Regions from separate parts of the Homo sapiens genome. Here region 2 is linked to region 1. The links are contacts of gene promoters, found by promoter capture Hi-C in human tissues and cell types (Jung and others, 2019). All regions are on one chromosome and are shown on one strand. The core of a region is centred on a gene start or on the middle of the fragment in contact, and the rest is flanking DNA. Distances in the headings are between cores, read along the strand shown.

Region 1 (2,588 bases), core at 62-2,561:
ATCTCTCGTTTCAAAAGGTCATTTCCATTCAGCAGATCCTCTTTCCCTATTTCAGAGCTCACCACTGTATTCTAAACAGAAGCCAATAGAGGGAGAAAAACAAAGCCAAGTGCAAAAGCTGTGGGCACTGAAAGTTTTGCTCCACCGGCCGCGCAGCACCCACTTGGGGTCGGGCTTTGGGACTTGGGGGAGTCAGGAGCAGGCGGGGGCTGGGGAGAGGACGAGGCCCTGGGGAGGGGCTGGAAAAGGCTTTTCACAGCGACTGGCACTTGATATTTCCAAGTCTTCTGGATGTCACTCACCGGAAACCAGACCCTGCGGTGCGAAGACTCAGGTACAGACCAGCCCCTTTTTCATCCATGCAATGGGAAGGGGACTCGGGCATCCTTTTAAGGAGCTGAGAAATGGGTCCTCAACTTAAAAATTTTTGTTTGTGCTACTGCGGTATAAAAAAAATAAAACGCAAAGTAGCAGACGGGGTGCAGGCTCTACGGGGCTCCGTTTCCCTCTCCTCCGAGTCTGGCGTGGAGGAGCCCCTGGGCTCCCTAGAGCCCCCAGCAAGGCGCATCCCGACCCGGGCCGGGAAGCGGGGGGACCCCGGACACACTCTCGCTGCTCAAGTTCGCGCCTCCGCGCCCCGAGGCGACGCCCCCGGCCCGCGACCCCGCGCGCACCTACCTTGCGCCAGCGCCCGGAGCAAGTGCAGCTGCAGCGCCAGCAGCGCCCACCAGCCGCGGCGGCCCGGCCCCAACTTTGCCGCCCGCCGCCCGCCGCACCGCCCCGCGCCCGCCGTGTCCCCGCCGGAGGTCTCGGGCGCCGCCCGGGGTCGCGAGGGCTCCGGGCCGGGGCGCGGCGCCAGCGAGGGGCGGGCGCGGCCGGGCGGGGATCCCCGCGGCCGCCCGGGGCCCGCGCGCTCAGGGGGCTCCGCGCCGCCGCCGCCGCCACCGGCCGCCGAGGGCCGGGCGCCCCGGGCCATGCCGAGCAGCCGCCACCCCGAGCGCCGCGCCGGACGGACGGGCGGGCAGGACAGGCGGGACGGCTCCGAGCGGGCGCGGCCACTCCGCGGGAGGCGCGGCGCCCCCCGGCCCGAGGTGAGCGGCCGCCCAGCGCTGAGGGGCGGCGTCCTGGGTCCCCGCGTGAGGGGCGCGGCGCGGGCCGGGGACGAGCCGGGCGAGAAGAAGTTGTCAACGGGGGAAATTCGCGTCCGGCGCTCACGCAGTCCCGAGCCCGCCGCGCTAGCTCCGAGGGGTCCGCCGGGCGCGGAGGAGCCGCCGCCGCCGCCGCCCCCGCCCGGCGCTGAGAAGAAAGTGCGCCCGCCCGCACGTCGCGGTCGCGCTCGCCCTCAGCTGCCGCGGCCGCCGCTCCCCATTCACAGCCCGGCCGCACGCGCCGCCCGCGCCCGCCGCCCGCCGCCCGCCGTTGATTGGCCGAGGGAGGCGGCGCCCGCTCCCAGGGCCCGCCCCCCAGGCCCTCGCTTGTTTTCAAAGTCGCGGCGCCCGCCCGCCTGCAATTTTGTGCCGGCCGCGGCGCCTGGCTCGGGCGGCTTCCCGCGCCGGCTGCGCCCCCTAGGGACCCGTAGTGGGGACTGCAGGCGGCGTCGATTCGGCACGCGCTCCCGTGGCGGGCTCGCGGGCGGGGGTGGTGCATCCTCGCCCGGCCCCGCAGCGGTGCGGGCGCCCGAGTGGGAAGGGCTCAGGTGCAGCAGGACGCGCAGATCGTGCGGCAGCCCAGGGCCGAGGGCGGAATAGGGCGCGCCCCGAGAGGCGCCCGGCTACCACCAGCTAGCTCAGTGCTTGGGGGTGACGCGCCAAGTTACCGTAATTGCAAACACGCGCAATCGGGTTTTTAATTTCTAGCAACCAAAGGCACCACTGGGTGCAAACTCGCCTCCTGTTCAGAGGAGTGGATATGGCATTGTAGAAGCGTCCAAGGTCACTTTTGGCCGGCGCTGGAGGAGGGCGGGGTAGGGAGGGACACATTGCAGGTTTCCCACCGTGGAGTGGGCGAGTCTTGGGGCAGGGTCGGCCAGTGGGAGGGTCTCCCAGGGCGGGACCCGGGAGCCTGTGGGGCTGGGGGTGGGGACGGGCGCCGACGCTCAGCATGTGGTAAGCATTAGCAGAGTTTATGGGGTGAACTAAGCGCACTGGAGGCTGAAAGGCCAGCATTTTTGTGGGAGGAGAGCTGGAGGTGACACGCACTGCCTCTGGAGTTGGCCCGGGAGGAGCCTGGGGACGTGTGATGATGGTCGCATGAGATCATGTAAGAGATGAACGCAGAGGGGCTGGGTGTGAGCCCAGCACGGGGCTGACTCCCCAGGAATCACCTGATGCAGTAGGTTTATTGTCCCAGCCAAGAAAGACCCCGGGCGAGTGGAGAGCAGGTCACAGGGCTGGGGTCTGGGATAGGAGCCAGCTCCTGCTCACAGAGCGCCTATGGTATTTGTCAAATAACTGATTGGTGGCTCAATATTAGCCTCTGTACACGTCCCCTAAGACTTAACAATGACCACGTGAACAAAACAGGGAAACTGAGGTCCAAGTACAGCCGCCGAACAGGAGGTGGTTTCAGAAAGAGGCCTCCCATCTGCC
Region 2 (2,588 bases), core at 42-2,541, 480 kb before region 1:
TCTTATTTTAAATAGTATTAGAGAAAAGGAGAAGCAATATAAAGATCGTCAATATCCAAATATGAAAACGGTTTTCCAATCACCGATGTTTAAATATAAACAGGTCAGATTTGGTTAAATTTGTCCTTGTTTTTTTTTTTTAAAAAAAATAGGTTACTGGCTTTGCCACACCACTTCACAAACAAAAATCAACTACTGTTCGATGTCTCCCATCTGTCTCAGAATACGTTGTCATTCTGGTAGCTACAATGCAAAAGACGGAGCTGCCTTGCTCTTATCCACTCAAGAATGGGGATTTATTGCAGGCCATTTTTAAACTACTCTAGCCCTAACGTAATTGCTTTCTGAAGCGTAGGAGAGACAAGTTGGCCAACTCCAGCTCTGTATTCATTTTATTCACAATTTCTTGGACCAGATGGTATACCTAGTCCTAAAGATAGTGTGTTTATTTTTTCACATCAATCAATTTAAAATAATATAATCAGAAAAGAAACTCCGCAGAATTCTTAGCCAAATGATAAAAAAGGAACATCCATAATTTAATACTGCCTTTGTTAATTTCATTTTACTCTAAGGCATTCAATTAAAGTGTCATGCAATAAAAGCTGCTGCTACAATGGAATCTCAAATCCTATTAAGTGTCAAGGATGTTAAACCTACAAAACTAACAGATTCTTTAGTCTGAAACCATTTAGGTACTTTATAGTGCTGCCAGCTAGTCTCCCACCTGAGTAGTGTTTTACTGGAAAGGCGGTCTATAATTTGTAATCATTGAAGCACTTTGAAATCGACCCTGCAGGGCCCTTCAACCTTATTCAGTTTACATTAAATAATTATGAACTCATCATTTTGTTTAAGCTTATGTTTAAAGTCAGCCATTCCGCCAAGTATACTCTGTTAAGATTAAATATATTTTAGTTTACGGAACATGGTGGATTCACGTTTGATCTAAAAATACTTCAACCTACTATAAGCATACGTGAAGTGCTTTCGCTACAATGAAATACAAAACATACACTTATGCTGTCAGTGTAAAAATATAGATGTGTGCAGGCAGCCTGGTCAGATCTGTAGAAATAACTGTTAGATGAAACAAAAACATTCTCTGGGTCTATTTGCCAGATGTAAAAAGATAGAAAATACGAACTTTAACCCAGAGAGTTAAGAAACCGTGCAATGGGAAATAGCGTTTCTCAAGGAGGCTTTTTGTTCAAAGCCAAAACACTTAACAAAAGCATTAGTTTTAAAATCTAAGCCATGAGGGCATTTTCTAAAATATAGTATCACCTTGCTTTTTCATGCTGAGATATTTTCTTTAGGAAACTACTATTAAAATATGGACTAATATAAGTTAGGAAAAAAAAACCTCCAGCTTCAAATGAAACTTCTTTCTTAATAAGGAAAACAAACATTTGCTTAAAGGTGGGAAGACTTTCATTTTATACACTACTGGTTGCTACAAGATGGGAGACACGACGGCATGGGAAATGCATTGCTCTACTTGATTTTTATGGGCAAAAAAAATGTTACTTTGTCAGAAAGGAAGGCAAGACAATAACCAACAAAAACTTCAAACTACTTATGTAAAACAAAATCATGTTAGAAAATGTCAGCTGCCAAATCACAATGTCCATCATTCCCTGCTGATCCTTTCTCAGCATGAAGCTGTGGCTTTTATTGTTTATAATTAGGGGAGAAGAAAAAAGAAAAGGACCATGTCTCCTTTTGTAATTGACCTATATTTTTTAGCAACACTTTAAGGACGACTTTCTGTAAAGTCTCTAAGCTTATGATAATGATTGCAAAGTAATATATACATGTGCAGTGTGGTGTGGCATGGGAAGTTTTAAGCTTATGATAATGATTGCAAAGTAATATATAGATGGGCAGTGTGGTGTGGCATGGGAAGTTTTAAGCTGGTGGTCAATCGAAAATATGTGAATACCCACCCTGGACTCACAGCTACATATCACACCAGTAGCTAAGAGGGGACACTGTTGGCAGAGGGGGCTCAGGTCCTTTAGAAGCCTGCTGCTGGGCACATCAGGAGGAATGCTGTGGCAACCTGAGTACAAGGACACAGGCCTGGGTTCTGGTTCCAGCTCAGCCACAGGTTGGCTAATTCCCATCAGAAAATGTCTCCTCATCTGTAAAATGACAACCATCCTACCGGCCCTGACGATCTCACAAGGTGAGGATCAAACTGGATTATATGAGTAAACACTTTGATAGCCATAAAGTCTTCCTCAAACATGCAACTATTTGGAAAAAGGCTTAGGAATATCTATTAAACAGGATGCCAATAAGGGCAAATTAGTGCACTGCATCTGAATATCAAGGCTGGAACGAAAGTCACTTGAAGATCAAACTCGCGTTCTGCACAGGTCTGCAGTTAGAGCATACATTTTACGTCTCAAGAGTCTTCATCACAACAAAGTTTACAGCCCTACAGTGACACTTTTATCTCATCCAATGTAAGCGCCAAGGGGGTTGAGAGTAAAATCAGAAAGAATGAGTTACAAAATAGATTTTAGAGAAAAATATCATCACAATTACCAGTGAGGAAGCAGGTATCTGAGGCGCTGGGG

The links. Contacts are between HindIII fragments. The study calls those that stand out against the background at their distance.
Region 2: a contact is called between a fragment that was not itself captured here and the fragment with the promoter of SDK1 in region 1, in 2 of the 25 tissues and cell types used here (IMR-90 fibroblasts and dorsolateral prefrontal cortex).

Annotation. Positions count from the first base shown.
Region 1 is chr7:3,299,975-3,302,562 of GRCh38, reverse strand. SDK1 (sidekick cell adhesion molecule 1) reads right to left here and starts at 1,311. Exons shown (of 45, transcript NM_152744.4): 1 at 679-1,311. The coding sequence starts at 976. SDK1-AS1 (SDK1 antisense RNA 1) reads left to right here. Exons shown (of 3, transcript XR_001744897.3): 1 at 1-334. RefSeq lists enhancers at 510-1,010, 1,720-2,231, 2,232-2,588 and a silencer at 1,285-1,834. The HindIII fragment of the contact is 11,292 bases long and covers 1-2,588 here.
Region 2 is chr7:3,777,013-3,779,600 of GRCh38, reverse strand. The region is part of intron 4 of SDK1 (sidekick cell adhesion molecule 1); the gene reads right to left. Among named protein-coding and RNA genes, the nearest start is that of SDK1-AS1, 430 kb to the right of the region's middle. The HindIII fragment of the contact is 3,678 bases long and covers 1-2,588 here.